2 separate regions of the Homo sapiens genome follow, and region 2 is linked to region 1. The links are contacts of gene promoters, found by promoter capture Hi-C in blood cells and fetal thymus (Javierre and others, 2016). All regions are on one chromosome and are shown on one strand. Each heading gives the region's core, a stretch centred on a gene start or on the middle of the fragment in contact. The rest is flanking DNA. Distances are from core to core; before and after follow the strand shown. Region 1 holds the start of DEFA6 (defensin alpha 6). Region 2 overlaps MCPH1 (microcephalin 1).

Region 1 (7,645 bases), core at 957-3,456:
CCCAGGACTGTTGTCACCCTCTTGTCTCTGGACATAGTGACAAGGGACAAGGCAAAGAGAGAGGGCCTGTGTTCTTGTGGACATGTGGTTGGCAAGGTTCTGGCCAGAGTCGGAAGGGCCAGGACCCCACGTTCCTTCCTCCTATGTTTGTATCCCATTCAAACCAAGATTAAAATTCTAAGCCCTCCAGCCAACTGAATGGACGCCTCCTCTCAGCCCAAGGCATTCTAGTGTTAACCTCAAACACTGGTTCAGGCCATGATGGGACGTGGGGATCAGGAATACCTCATGATATCCTCCTCCCATTGGAATTCAGGCACAGCTGGCCAGCATTAACATTAAAACAGAGTGCCTAAGGCCACGTGCGGTGGCTCATGCCTGTAATCCCAGCACTTTGGGAGGCCGAGGTGGGCGGATCACTTGAGGTCAGGAGTTCGAGACCAGCCTGGTCAACATAGTGAAACCCTGTCTCTACTAAAAATACAAAAATTACTTGGCGTGGTGGTGGATACCTGTAATCCCAGCTACTTGGGAGGCTGAGGCAGGAGAATCACTTGAACCCAGGAGGTAGAGGTTTCAGTGAGCCAAGATTGTGCCACTGCACTGCAGCCTGGGCAACAGAGCGAGACTCCATCTCAGAAAGCAAAAAACAAAAAAACAAAAAACCCAAATCCTCTCTTCTCTCAACATCCTCTCTACCACTTCTCTGGTCTACATAGAAAACTCTTTCGAAGAGCTAGTGTTCTGAGATACGACTTGGGTTTTTGTTTTTGCATCTGAAGAATCCTGAATTATCAAACACCAGAAAAGCACAAACACAAAAGAACTTGCTGAAAGGACTTTATTTGAGATGAGGAAACAAAGTTGATGGCAATGTATAGGACACACGACAGTTTCCTTCTAGGTCATAAAGTAAATTATGAATATATTTCTCTCTGTTCTCATCCCTCAGAGGCAGCAGAATCTGTGGTTAATACCCATGACAGTGCAGGTCCCATAGGAATATTCTGTTGAATAACAGGACCTTCTGCAATGGCAAGTGAAAGCCCTTGTTGAGCCTGGGGACAGAGAGAGAGAGCATCAGAAATTGAGCACCAGGGTCAGCAGCGGGCAGTAAAGAGAATCTTCAGGAAGTTGCATGCTTGCTGACATGTAATGCTGGCTGCATTACAGCCAATAGCATGATCACACCATCAATAGGAATAAATACGCAGAGCAGTGTTGGTCACACACAGGATTAGAGAGCCATTCTGATATGCTGTACTTATCTGCTCCTTCCCTGTCACACACACATCTGAATGCACCCATATGACTGTCTCCAGTTTGCAACGGTTCCTATAAAAGTCAGATTAAAAAACATTCCTTTAGCAGCTGGATGTGGTGGCTTACGCCTGTAATCCCAGCACTTTGGGAGGCCAAGGTGGGTTTATCACAAGGTCAGGAGTTCAAGACTAGCCTGGCCAAGATGGTGAAACCCCGTCTCTACTGAAAAAAAAAAAAATACAAAATTTAGCCAGGCTTGGTGTCTGGTGCCTGTAATCCTAGTGACTTGGGAGGCTGAGGGAGAGAATTGCGTGAACCCAGGAGGCAGAGGTTGCAGTGATCTGAGATAGTGCCACTGCACTCCAGCCTGGGTGACAGAGCGAGACTCCATCAAACAAAACAAAACAAAACAAAGCAAAACAAAACATTCCTTTAAAATTAGGCTCTCTTCCTTGAAGTAGAGACTCCTCAATACATTTCTACATGGCAAAAAATTAGAAAATTTCATAGACTTATCATAGAATTAAAAAATCTTTAGAGAAAAGTCATGCCTTGAATATCACTGATTCTTCCTTTTCAGTACAAACATAAAGTAATTGAGGCCTGGGGAGGTGATCACCTAAGAGAAAGAGCCAGCTGTTGGATCTAATTCTAGAAGTGCTTGGTTTTCCTCTCTACACTCCTAGCTCTGCAATGCTGGTGTCTCTTACCCAAAGCTCTAAGACTTGAGCTTGCATCCTCTGCAAAGGAGACGGCAAAGTCCTGGTCATTTGCCCCACGCTGCTCCTGGGCATCAGCCTCATAAGCTTTTGCCTGCAGTGGATCATCCTCAGCTTGGAGTGGCTCAGCCTTGGCCTGGAGGGCCACGAGGAGAACAGCAGTGAGGATGGTGAGGGTTCTCATGGCTAGGGTCGCTGGAGGAGAGAGAGCAGGAGCAGATGTGTGGGGAGTGAGGAGCCAGCCTGGATTTATAGGTCTGCTGGGAGAAGGCTCAGGGACAGATGTTGCGGTGAGACGGGGAGTGCATGTGATTGGGGAGCAGAAGAGCTACCCTTGCCCTCCATGTCCCTTTGATGCTCCTTTGTTCTCCAAGCTTCATTGTAGTGTGAGGCTGTTTATTGAGTGTCTGTTCTGGTCCCAGCTGATAGTGATGATAAGAACAGTGTTACATTGTCCTGTTTTCCATCTGCTGGAATATTTACTTGTTAATATTCAAAAAAGAAAAGAACAGTGCTTTCAATGAATAATTTCAGGAATCAAATGCCTCTTATTTTCTGAAGGTGGGGCTGGCCACTCTCTGGAGGTCTAGACCTTGAGGCCAGAGCTGGATCCCGCTAGAGTAGAGAGTTAATTCATTGCAGGATTCAGGGGGCATTTCTGCCCTCATGAAGGAGGCTTTGAGATTATGGGGTGAATAGGCTCTTGTGGGGCACAGTGTGGAGAAGATAATGACCTTATCAGCCTATAAGGGAAAAGAACTCAGTGGGATACTAGGTAAAGAGTTAGTAAAACTAAAGCCAAAAGATTTATTTCAAGAAACCCATGTGATCTGAATGTATCAACTAAAATATGTACTAGGTATTTCTCTCCACTTTGAGAAACATCGAAACAATTGACATGCCCACAATCCCCCTCTGAAATTTTATTTTATTTTTAATTTTAGAAAATGTTGAATTGCCCACAAGGACCATTCAAAGGGTAAAAGGAGTAATGAGCCTCCATCCTTGCCCCAGCCCTGCAGCTCTGCTCCAGGAAATCTCCACTTAAAAATTAAACATTGGTTTGTGCTTTGTTTTTTCTCCCTAATGCTGTAATTTGAATACTTTGTAGCTCAAAACATATAGAACTCTACCATTATTTTCATAGTCTCTTGTTTCTGGTCTTCTATTCAGGTATTTTATCCATTTTGAGTTAAGTTTTGTATATGCCAAAAGAGAAGGGTCCAGTTTTATTGTTTTGCATATGGAAATAGTATTCCCACCACCATTTATTGAAGAGACTCTCCTGTCCCTATTGTGTCTTCTTCATGCCATTGTCAAAAGTTACTTGACCATATGTGTTTCGATGTGTTTCTGGACTCTCAATTTTATTTCACTGGTATGTGTCTGGTTTTATGCCAATACCATATTGTTTTGATTACCGTAGCTTTGTAATATAATTTAAAACCAGGAATTGTGATGTCTTCAACTTTGTTTTTTTTTCTCAGAATTGTTTTGTCTATTTGGGTTCTTTCACCATTTCATACAAATTTTAGGATTTTTTTTTTTATTTCTGTAAAGAATGCCATGGGGATTTTGATAGGAATTGTGCTGAATCGGTATATTGTTTTGTTTGGGATAGACATTTTAACAATCTTAATTCTTCCAATTTTCAGCCCAGGATATCTTTCCATTTATTTTTACATTCTTTAATTTCTTTCACTATTTTTTTTTTTTTCATTTTCAGTGTGTAGATCCTTCACCTCCTTGTTTCTTCCTAGGTGTTTTATTTTTTGATGCTATTGTACATGGAATTGTTTTCTTGATTTTTGTTTCAGTTTTGTTAGGGAATCTATGGGCATTTAAAAATGCATTTGTTCTGTATTTATTTGAATTTTGCCTTCATTTACCCAGCAGGAGATGACCATTTAACTAACATCTAAATTTCGAATTAAACTTTCCCTCTCCAACCCAAACTGTAATTGTCCATTGTGACTTATAGCTGTCTATGCCTCTTTCCCCAGTAGTTCATGGGACAGGCAATAATTACTCTATCACCTGGAAATCCTACCCTGGAGCTGTTACTCAGATACCCTGATCTAGCTAACAGGACAAGATACTTCTGTAAATAAGTGATCTAATTTGTCTTGACTTAAAGGAGCATTTTGGAATTGTATGCTCTATCTTTGGAAACTAAGAAGTGTTCCCAGCCTATTTTAATTGAAATAGAAGATAATGCAGACCAATCCCCATGGGCATTGGTAAATGTTTAGACAGATGGGGTGCAGGAAGGCTTATCAGGATCCATATCGCAGCTTGTAAAGTCACCACAATCACCACGCCAACAGACGGAACGCCTGGAAGTAAACAGAACTTCTAGAACAGTAGAACATCAAAGGGTGTCAGGGACAAGGGAACTTCACGTAGTTCCTTTCCCTCTCTCTACTTACCTTCCTGCCCCTAGAGTCACATACATGCAAATACTGAAGCACAAGCTCTATTTTGAAGAGCCCATTTACTCTAGGATCCAGCTTTCAATGATCATGCACAAAATCGAGGCAGGTATATCTCCCCCTTGTTTAGCCATCAGGCTCCTGCAAGAGAAGTAACCTCCCTACCGTGACCCGCAGTCACGAGGACCTCATCTCTGTTAACTGCCTTTCTTGAGTTAACCCCACCCCACTCCCACATGGAAGCCCTAATAAGAACCGAGCATCTTGGAGATGCCACCGAGATGAAGTTGACTTAGGCCAAGGGCTGTCTCTGTTGTCCTCAGTGGCTCCAGCATACCTCCACCCTGAGATGTCCTCACACATCAGACGCTGACCTAGCAGAGCCCACACTATCTTCCAGTAAAGAAGAACCTGCCCTTACAGAGAACTGGGCGCGCAGCACTGCAGTAGCACCTTAAGGACAGCAGGTGGCCCTCCTGCCCTTAAACAGGAGTTGACCCAAGAGGGACTTCAAATGGGAGCGCTGTAAAGTGCTGTTCAGCAAACACATTGCTTTCTTCTGCACCCCAAAGTGTACATATTACAACATTAGTTCAGGGGGCACAGAATACACTGCTGCTGGTTCCGTGTCAGCGGTAGCTGCTGGCCCTGGAAGGCTGGCCTGCCCCGTCTCTAACCTAGTGTCATGATGTCGTTCCCCCTTGTGCTGGCTGCGGGGCTGAGGACCTGAGTCTGGGGGCCTCTGCTCTTTCTCCTGGGTGGCAATGCTCCTGTCCCTGCCTCCTTCCCAGTCTGTGGTGGGGACTCGACAGCCAGGGCAGGTCAGGTTCTCAGTCTGTGCTGAGGTCTCACCTGGGCCTTGCCTCTGTCTCCCCCAGGTGGCTCCCAAACCCCAATTAGAACAGAGTGAGTCTGTATCTCGTGGTCCCTTTCACCTTTCTTTCTGGGCTGCACCAGAACCTTGGCAGAAATCAGTGGTTTAAGCAAAAAATGGTGCTACATGTAAAAGTCTTTGCAACACTTTCACTTCCACCCCCACCCACCCTGCCCCCAGCACAGTGTCCTGGACTTGCCACCAGTGTCAACTCTGAGTGTAGACACAACTGAAACTGTTCCTTCATACACATGCAGTTCAGCTTTCAGACACTCAACAAGAGCCTTGACACCCTCAAGCTGGGGTAAATATCCTGGGGAAGCTACAGGTGGGGGTGCAGGTGTGGGTGTGAGAGGAGAAAGGCCTTCAGCAGCAGCAAGGATATTCCCACACTCTCTGAGGCTGTCTGGTGACCCCAGCAGACACAGTGAGTGTGGACCTTGGGCAGGGCCCTGGGACATGGTTTTGACCCAGTGTGGAAGGGCAGTTTTGGAACAGAGTGTGTGTGTTAGCGTGGGGTAGAGCGGGGGCTGCGTGGGGGTGAGCTCTGAGAACTGTCCATCTCCCAGCCCCTGAGAGTGCACCGCCCTGTCCCTCCCCTCAGCCTTTTGTCCACCTCCCTGCAGGGAGGGTCCTGGTGCTGCCTGTGCCACACAGCAACTCCCGGGCCTGCAGATCCAGCTGGGACAGGCAGGAGCTCCAAGTCCCCTGCCCTTTGTCTGCCTTTCCCAGCCGCCTCTCACATGCTGTCTATGTGTCTGGTGTTGTTGCCTGCAGCAATTTTTACAAATGACTATGAAAGAATAACTCTCTTGGGCTGTTTTAAAATGTGGTCCCAATTCTTGGACTCTTCTCCCACAGAAAGGGAGGTTTACTTCTTTCCTGTTGGATCTAGGTCGGGTGACATCTTCACCAATAGAATGCACCTGACTTAGTACCATGCCGTTTGCTGGGCCCAGGTGCTAAGACACTGGTATTTTTCACTTTCACCGTCTTGGATGGCGCTGCAGTTGGAATATTTTTGTCCCTCTGAAATTCATATATTGAAATATTAAACCACCAGGTGATAGCATTAACAGGTGGTGCCTCTGGGGAGGTGAGTAGGTCCGGAGGGCACCTCATGAATAGGATTAGTGTCCTTATAGAAGAGATCCCAAGGAGCTCCTTCATTCCTTCCATCAGGTGAGGACACAGTGAGGAGGTGCCATCTATGAACGAAAAAGCTGGTTCTCAGCAGACACCAAATCTGCTGCCACCTTGATTTGGACTTCTCAACCTCTAGAACACTGAAAAATATATCTGTTGTTCATAAGCAACTCAGTTTATGGTATTTTTTTTTAAATAGTGGCTCAAACGGACTAAGAGGGCTGGTCACTTGGGGGCCCAGACACCGTGTTTTGAGGAAGCCTCAGCCTCGCACAGGAAGATGAACTGAGGGCACCTGCGAGGGTGAGCTAGAGAACACAGAACAGCCAGCTTTCTGGGAAAAACCAAAACTCTGATTTACAGTGTTTGTAAATTTCTGTGGTTAGAATCCTCCCAGCTCTGGACCGTTTAAAAAATGTCACACAAACCACCTTTCTCATGAGCCGGCATGATCTGGCCCCAGCGCATCACAAGGTCCCATCCCTCAGCCCTGTGAGAGCTCCCAGCTGAGCCAGCACTGCCTGCCACCTGTGCGCGAGTGTCTCAGCCCTGAGCTCCTCAGATCCCAGCAGAACCTCTCCTCTGAGCCAGGCCCAAATTGCCAAGGTATGAGTGAAGACCTGATGGTGCTGTTTCAGTCCACTATGTTTGGGATATCTTTCCACACAGCAGTAGATGAACAGAGGGCATTGTCACAGTCTTGGCGAGAAGTTGGACTTGTGCATTTCTGCGTGTGTAAACTTCTGCTTCTCCAAAATATTGGCGAAGTAGGACTGAATCCTCTTACCTTATTCCCAAAGTGTCACAAAGAGCCCATGATGGTGGGAGCATGAGATTGTGGACTGTTTGGAGTGACCGAAGAACCCTCTCACCCATTCCTAGTTTAAATTCTTCCCGCTGGGAGCAGGGGTGGTGTGGGAGCCAGGTGGGGTCTCAACCTCTGCCCTCAGTAACAGACTCAGAAGAGGCCATAGGACTCAGGAGTTGGCTGAAACAACAGGGAAAGAAGTAGGGATTTTCTCTAGGAGATTAGCTGCGAAGGGCACAGAGAGATGACCATGAATGACATGGCTGTCACCTGGGGAGAGATCCCAAAGTAAGATCAAGAGAAACAAAGGGGAAAAAAGGTAAAGACGACAAAGTAACTCATGCTTTGAGTCCTTGGACCAAGCATTTCCTAAAGCCAGAATTCCTTGGTATGGGAGTGAAAA
Region 2 (7,274 bases), core at 686-3,185, 470 kb before region 1:
TTCTAAAAAATTGATTATGGGTAAATGCTGGAAAACTCAGAATATGAAACTGAAAGCGTTGTTTGCATTCCAGACAAAGAGTTATTATTGATAGAGCAAGCTTTCTCATATCACTTTGCTAATGCATTTCTTATAAAAATGCCTGTAGCTTCTCTCAAGCAGAGAATGTTGGTTGTGCCAGTGTTTCTTGCCATTTTATAATCGGAATAAATATTTACTAGGTAGGAGGTGAAGAATCCAAACATTCATTCACTTTTGAACTAACCAAGTCTTGACCTCAAGCCATCAGAGTGAAAGGTTTATATACTAACACTCAGGTACACCCTTCCCTTTGTGGTTTTGGCTTTAAAACCTTGCTCTTCCTCTGAAAGACTCCGCTGATCCTCTTACATGAGTAATAGAATGAGGATTTTAAATGTTTTTATCATTCAATATCTACTTGCATTGCTTAAATTTAAAATTAGCCATATATATTATACCTTGTGCCTCATTTTTATGAGGCCAAAAAAGTATAATGTAGTGAAACCTGAATTCAGAATGGTAGGGAAAAACCATACCGATTGAAAAGCAACAGATGAAAAGAATGACAGAGTAGATGGGTCTGCATGGGGCTTCCAGGTCCTGATACGCAGGCTTGAACAGATGGGCGGCTGCATTTGACCTGCGGAAGAGAAACCTGACTCCTTTGCTTCTTATCTTGGCAATGGTTAAAAGACATTTAAAATTACACAGATTTCATGAAAGTTGGCAGTAACTTGTAGAAACTTAGATTTCTTTACTGATGCTTTCTGGTTTGTCTCGGAAAAAAAAGTGGAGCAAGAAAATGGAAAGGAACCCTATTTCAGGTAAAGCAACAGATGTGGAGAGAGAGAGACTGTCAGGGTCCCATAACATGTTTGTGGCGTGGGCAACACCAAGGCACCTGCTCTACAATGGCGTTGCGCACTGTGACTCCACTGCAGCCTGCGGGACCTGCTCAGCGCGCTGCCTCCCAGGGGTGGGGCCCTTCCTAGAACGCTCGCAACACTGTGGCTGAGTTTGTGTTTTGCGTCCCAGTTTCTCAGTCTTCTTCCTACTGCTACATGGCCGCTTGACCTAGTTCATTTGGAAAGAAATAAAGAACCAGTTTCCTTTGCATCTACTACCGTTCCCGTGCCTCTCCTGCTGATGCGTCGCATGGCACCACAGCTCTGTTCTGTGCCCTCCCGCTTTACTGACCCTTTACCCTCTGCCAGTGTCTGCCCAGGGAAGCCGTGGTACCTCTCATCTCTATTGGTACTCTACGTTGTACCATGTCTGGCTTTTTTTTTTTTTAAGTGCTCAGTAAATATTGAGTGTTGAGTTACTTGTTACTCACCATAAAAATACTCCGTCCTGTCTGATCAAAAGGCATGAGGTTTGACTTTCTCATTTGCCCACAGTGGAAGTTACTGTTTCAGACGAGTGGTATTGCCTCCCTGTGCCTGGGATAGCCCTGAATCTGATGGGCTGGGTCTGTGGAAGCACTGGGTTAGGGACAGGCATCCTGGGCGGGAGTGTGGCCCCTTCTTCCTTATGAGGCATCTCACTGTAAATGGCATATGAATGGGAGATGGGTACCTGTTTGACCTTCTGGCATTCTTCTGTAGATCAAATAGTAAGTGCTCCATAAATATAAGGTGGTATTACTGTCTTGAGTAATGATAAAAGAATGAGTGGTCAGAGAGGGAGACAAAATACACAATTACAAATACACACCTCCATATCTGCCTTCAACTGCTGTGCTCAGGAACAAAAATATTTTCATATATTAAACTGCCTAACTTGCTCAAATTTAAGTCTTCTTTTAAAAATATTTTAAGAGTATTAGTAAACTTTGCCCTCATAATTTAGAATGTCATTTCTGAAACGAATCCACCACTTCTGGTTCTGTGTGAAGAATCACTCAAAGCAGGTTTTAAATGCAGATTTTCTGGGCCAGTCATGGTGGCTCATGCCTATAATCCCGGTACTTTGGGGCGGGCGGATCACTTGAGGTCAGGAGTTCGAGACCAGCCTGGCCAACATGGCAAAACCCTGGCCAACATGGCAAAATCCCGTCTCTACAAAAAACACAAAAATTGGCCAGGCCTGGTGGTGGGCACCTGTAATCCCAGCTGCTCAAGAGACTGAGGTGGGAGAATCACCTGAACCCAGGAAGGGGAGGTTGCAGTGAGTCGAGATCATGCCACTGCACTCCAGCCTGGGCGACAGAGTGAGACTCTGTCTCAAAAATAAATAAATAAATGCTGATTTTCTGGCCCCACCTGAGACCCTCCTGGCCAGCAGCTCCCGACCCCAGTGCGGCACCCCGTCCTTAACGTGGAGGGGACGAACACCTAGTGAGGGCGAAGAATCCACCTTCTGTATTGCGTCTCGCCAATAGCAGAAGGAGCAAGACCTAGGTTTCCCCTCTTTCGCAGGATTTTCTTCCTAATCCAGTCCTTATTAGTGTTCACCGCACAGCCTTTGCTTGAATGAATCAAAAACTCCTAATGCCCTAGGGTAGTGCTTCCTGACTGGGCTGCGCATTGGACTCACCTGGGGATCTGTAAGGTTTGTGGCTGCCTGGCCCCAAGCCAGACATGCTGGTGTCATTAATATGGGGTGCACCCTGGCCACTAGGATTTTTTTAAACTCCTGAGGTGATTCTAATGCAAAGCAGAGTTTGGAAACTACAGCCTTGGGACTTTTAGAATTTAAACAAGTAATTTATCCTAGAAGAAGTTTCATTTCTTTATAAACATTTCTCATGTAAAGTTGTTTCATTTTTAGACTCTAAAATTAAAGACCAAGGCTTAAAGTCCTGATTTGCGGGCTGGGTGCGGTGGCTCACACCTGTAATCCCAGCGCTTTGGGAGGCTGAGGTGGGCAGATCATGAGGTCAGGAGATCAAGACCATCCTGGCTAAGACGGTGAAACCCCGTCTCTACTAGAAATACAAAAAATTAGCTGGGCGTAGTGGCGGGCGCCTGTAGTCCCAGCTCCTCGGAAGGCTGAGGCAGGAGAATGGCATGAACCCGGGAGGCGGAGATTGCAGTGAGCTGAGATCGTGCCACTGCATTCCAGCCTGGGCAACAGAGTGAGACTCCTTCTCAAAAAAAAAAAAAAAGAAAAAAAAAAATTCCTGATTTGTTTGCTTAAAGGTTGAGTGAGTGTTTTAGGAGCGCAAATTTGATAGCAATATAGATGAAGGACGTGTTTTATTATTTTACAGGTTAGAAGGAAGAATGATATAAATTTCTTAAAAGGTAACATTAAATTTATTTTATTTTATTTTATTTTTCTGAGATGGAGTATCACTCTGATGCCCAGGCTAGAGTGTACTGGTGTTATCTCGGCTCACTGCAACCTCCGCCTCCTGAATTTAAGCGATTCTCCTGCCCCAGCCTCCTTAGTAGCTGGAACCACAGGCACCCGCCAGCACGCCTGGCTAATTTTTTAAGTTTTTTGTAGAGATGGGGTTTCACCATGTTGACCAGGCTGGTCTCGAACTCCTGACCTCAAGTGATCTGCCTTCCTTGGCCCTCCCAAAGTGCTGGAATTACAGGCGTGAGCCACAGCACCTAGCCAGCAACATTAAATTTTAAGTATATAACTTCCCAGTAGTTTGAGATCTTTTGATATGAGCATGGGGAGAGAAGTTTATGTTGATATGTGGTAATGAGTCCACAGAAACACTAAAATTTAGTTTCCTGGTTTTAAAAGTATACAGTGGAATTGTGGAAGGATTGAATTGGTGAATTAAAATTAGAAGCTTCTGAGTAGCAGCCTACAAATATAATGTTAGTATCTCAACCATTCTTTTTTTCCCATTAAATAGGTTTTACCTGCTTATTTTGTTCCTTGTTAGATTTCAAGATAAACTGTGTTAAACTGAAATTTGGAACTTAACACGGCCTTTTTTGTTTGTTTGTTTGAGATGGAGTCTCGCTGTGTCACCCAGGCTGGAGTGCAATGGCACAGTCTTGGCTCACTGCAACCTCTGCCTCCCGGGTTCAAGCGATTCTGCTGCCTCAGCCTCCCAGGTAGTTGGGACTACAGGTGCACGCCACATATTTTTATGTATAAGGACATATTAAGGTATTAGATTCTATTAAGCACAAAATTGTTTCTATTTCCTAAAGAAAACAAAATCTTGTAATTGAATATTAATGTTGAAAAAGGGAGAGTTTACAGGAAATATCTTTCACCAGCTAATGACTGAAGCAATGCCTCTACTAGAATGGAGAACAGTAAGGTCTGGGCCTGACATTTTTATGTTTTCACTTGAGAGCCAGCCTACATGCTATTTCTGTAGTGAGGAAAATGATTTGAAACTCAGATGTGTCCCGTGGCCCTAATGACTTTATTTTCTTTTTAGTTTTAAATCTGAAGTAGCACTTGCAGGTAATGTCCTATCTGGGCAGCCCTGCAGACAGGACTGTCAGTCGATGAGAGCTGTCAGTCGTGAGTTCTGAGTAATGTGAAGGTGCCAGGTAGAAGGTACAAAGGCAAGAAAGGTGGGAAGGCCTGGAGCCTGTGCGAAGAGCAGCACGGCCTTGGTGTGGCCCGGGGATGGATGCAGAACCGCGAGAAGAGAGAGGCTGACTTCAGCCACGGCCACGGGCTCTGGGGTTAGACTGCTCTCATCTTTGGTTTTCTGTAGGTTCATTGTGATTGTTGTACCAGGGTATTGTTTTTGTTGTTTATTTACTTGAGAGTCACAGGCCGTCCTGTCTTTGATCTGTTCTGGAAACTTCTCCACTGTGATTTCTTTTGCCTGTTTTCTCACGCCTCCATTGCTGGGAACGCAATCTCGTGTGCTATCCTTTGCTTCTATAGCCCATGTCTCATGATTTTCCTCTATTTCTTTCCTCTTGTATCTCCTTATTTCATTCTGGATGTCTTCTATTGGTTTCTTTTCCATTTCACCTTTGACTCTTTTTAAGTCTATTCTGATGCTAAATCCATATACTGAGTTTTAACATGTATTATTTTTCAGTCCCTGCTATTCCATTTATTTTTTTTAATTATTTTTTGTAGAGATGGGGGTCTCTCCACGTTGGCCAGGCTGGTCTCGAACGCCTGGTCTCAAACAATCCTCCTACCTCGTCCTCCCAGGGTACTGGGATTACAGGCGGGAGCCTTCATGCCCTCTATTTGATTTATAAAAACCATTTCCAGTTCTCTGTCAAAATTATTAATCCTATCTTTTATTTATTTGAACATATTATGCATATTTCTTTTGAAATAACTCCCTTTTCTGGCTCCCCTCAATTTCTGTTTTTCTTATCTGTTGTTTTCAATCATACGTTCCATATCTAATATGCCTGGTTAGTTTGTCTTTATCTTCCTAGCAGGGACTGAGATGATCTGGAGCTGGGGTTCTGTCTCTGTGAGGCTAGCTGTCCCCTGGGAGTGTGGGCTTCTGACTCTGGTTCACCTCCTCTTCCATGGGTTTCTTCTTCCATGACTCACTGACTTAGTAGCTGGGCAACGTCTGCAAATAGCTGGGGCTTGTTTGTTTGTTTGCATCTTGTCCAGCTTTTCTGAGGGCTCACAGTGAGGAGCCTATTTCAAACTACTTAGTCCACCATTCCTGGAGACGATGGGTGAATTTTAACGGCCACTTAACTTTTCTAAATAGAGTTTTGGTGTGAATGCTTCTCTGAGAAGACAGCAGTAAGAGGCCAACTCAAGAGAAATGATTTTTGAGATGAACACGTAGGTCAGTTTGCAAAAGACACACTAAACACCTGAATTGACATTAATTCAGTTTCTCTTAAAGAGTGAAAAAAACCATGATTCCATGAAGAATTATAGAATCTCAGAGCTATAACTTCCATTAGCTTTTTTTTTGGTGTAATGCCCATTTTTAATGGCAAAAATCACTCTATAAATCAGTCAGAAAAAGAGTCTGTTTTTTTTTAGACTTATTTTAAATATACTTGTTTCAAATTTGTTGAGACTTTTTTTTTTTTTTTTTTGAGATGGAGTCTCGCTCTGTTGTCCAGGCTGAAGTGCAGTGGCCCAGTCTTGGCTCACTGCAACCTCCACCCCACCAGGTTCAAGTGATTCTTGTGTCTCAACCTCCTGAGTAGCTGGGATTATAGGTACCTGCCACCATGCCCAGCTAATTTTTCTATTTTTTTTTTTTTTAATTAGTAGAGACAGGGTTTTGCCATGTTGGCCAGGCTGGTTTTGAACTCCTGACCTCAAGTGATGTGCCCGCCTCAGCCTCCCAAAGTGCTGGGATTACAGGCGTGAGCCACCACACCCGGCCTGGTGAGACTTTATTTGGAGGATCCAGTTAAGCAGTTTTATTACCTCTGTAATCTTAGCTTGCAGCATGTAGGTCATTGACATTGATAGTTATACATCTTTTCAGAGGGAGAAATAGAAAATATTATGACGAATTTTGACCTGTTTTCTTTGTTACTTGTTGAATATTGTCAGACACAGAACCCAAAGAAGCTATGTATAGATACCAGCACTCTGGTAGAAATACACGAATGTAATTTTTTTTTCTCCAAGTATTTGGTTTATTCTACTACTTCTGGATTTGGTTTTTCAAAATATTGATTATTATCCTCAGGAACATTTTTAATGTGAGTTATCAACAGGATAGCTTTTTGTAAGTGGCTCAGTTGTAGAATCTCATTTTGGAGCCATCTCTGCCAATCCAGCTTGTTGCATGTGAAGGCAAGCTGTGGGTCAGAGCACAGAAATGTTTACAGAGGCTTTCCTAAGCCTGGAGGCCTGGAGAGATGTGAAGGAACAAATAGAGCATACTTATTTTGATAGTGGTTTAAAAAAATTAAAGAATTACACACCACATAGAATGCTTAAATTCCTGAAAGTTTCTCAAATAGGGTGCAAAACAAATAATAGCTTGCATATGCTGATAGTTGCTTGTTCTTACATCTTTGCTAGAATATGAGCCCATAAGGACATAGTCTATATCCTGTTAGTCTCTTAATACTCAGCAGGATATAGCATCACAAACAAAATAAGTGCTCAGTAAATATTTTCTGAGTAAATAAGAGATGCATTAATTTCCCTTTTACTTTTTCAGTGAACATGTTTAAAACATTTTTGGTGCTCTTAACCATCACTCAGTAATGATGGAATCATCATCATGTACTTCACTTATTTTTGAATATTCTTCCAAAACTTGAGAGACTGTCTTCTTTCAGTAAAAGATGGATTCTCTTCTCCAAGGCTGTGCATGGCAGCGCAGTGTTGCTAAAGCATTGCCCCCAGAGCCAGATGCC

Evidence for each region. The method cuts DNA at HindIII sites, captures the fragments that hold promoters and counts their contacts. A CHiCAGO score of 5 or more calls a contact.
Region 2: a fragment that was not itself captured here is called in contact with the fragment with the promoter of DEFA6 in region 1 in 1 of 17 cell types (monocytes); the score reaches 5.1 in monocytes.

What each region holds. Positions count from the first base shown.
Region 1 is chr8:6,923,870-6,931,514 of GRCh38, forward strand. DEFA6 (defensin alpha 6) reads right to left here and starts at 2,207. Exons shown (of 2, transcript NM_001926.4): 1 at 1,974-2,207; 2 at 828-1,058. The coding sequence starts at 2,166. The coding sequence ends at 949. RefSeq lists an enhancer at 52-552. The HindIII fragment of the contact is 287 bases long and covers 2,068-2,354 here.
Region 2 is chr8:6,455,357-6,462,630 of GRCh38, forward strand. All of the region lies in intron 9 of MCPH1 (microcephalin 1), which reads left to right. Among named protein-coding and RNA genes, the nearest start is that of MCPH1, 52 kb to the left of the region's middle. The HindIII fragment of the contact is 3,675 bases long and covers 99-3,773 here.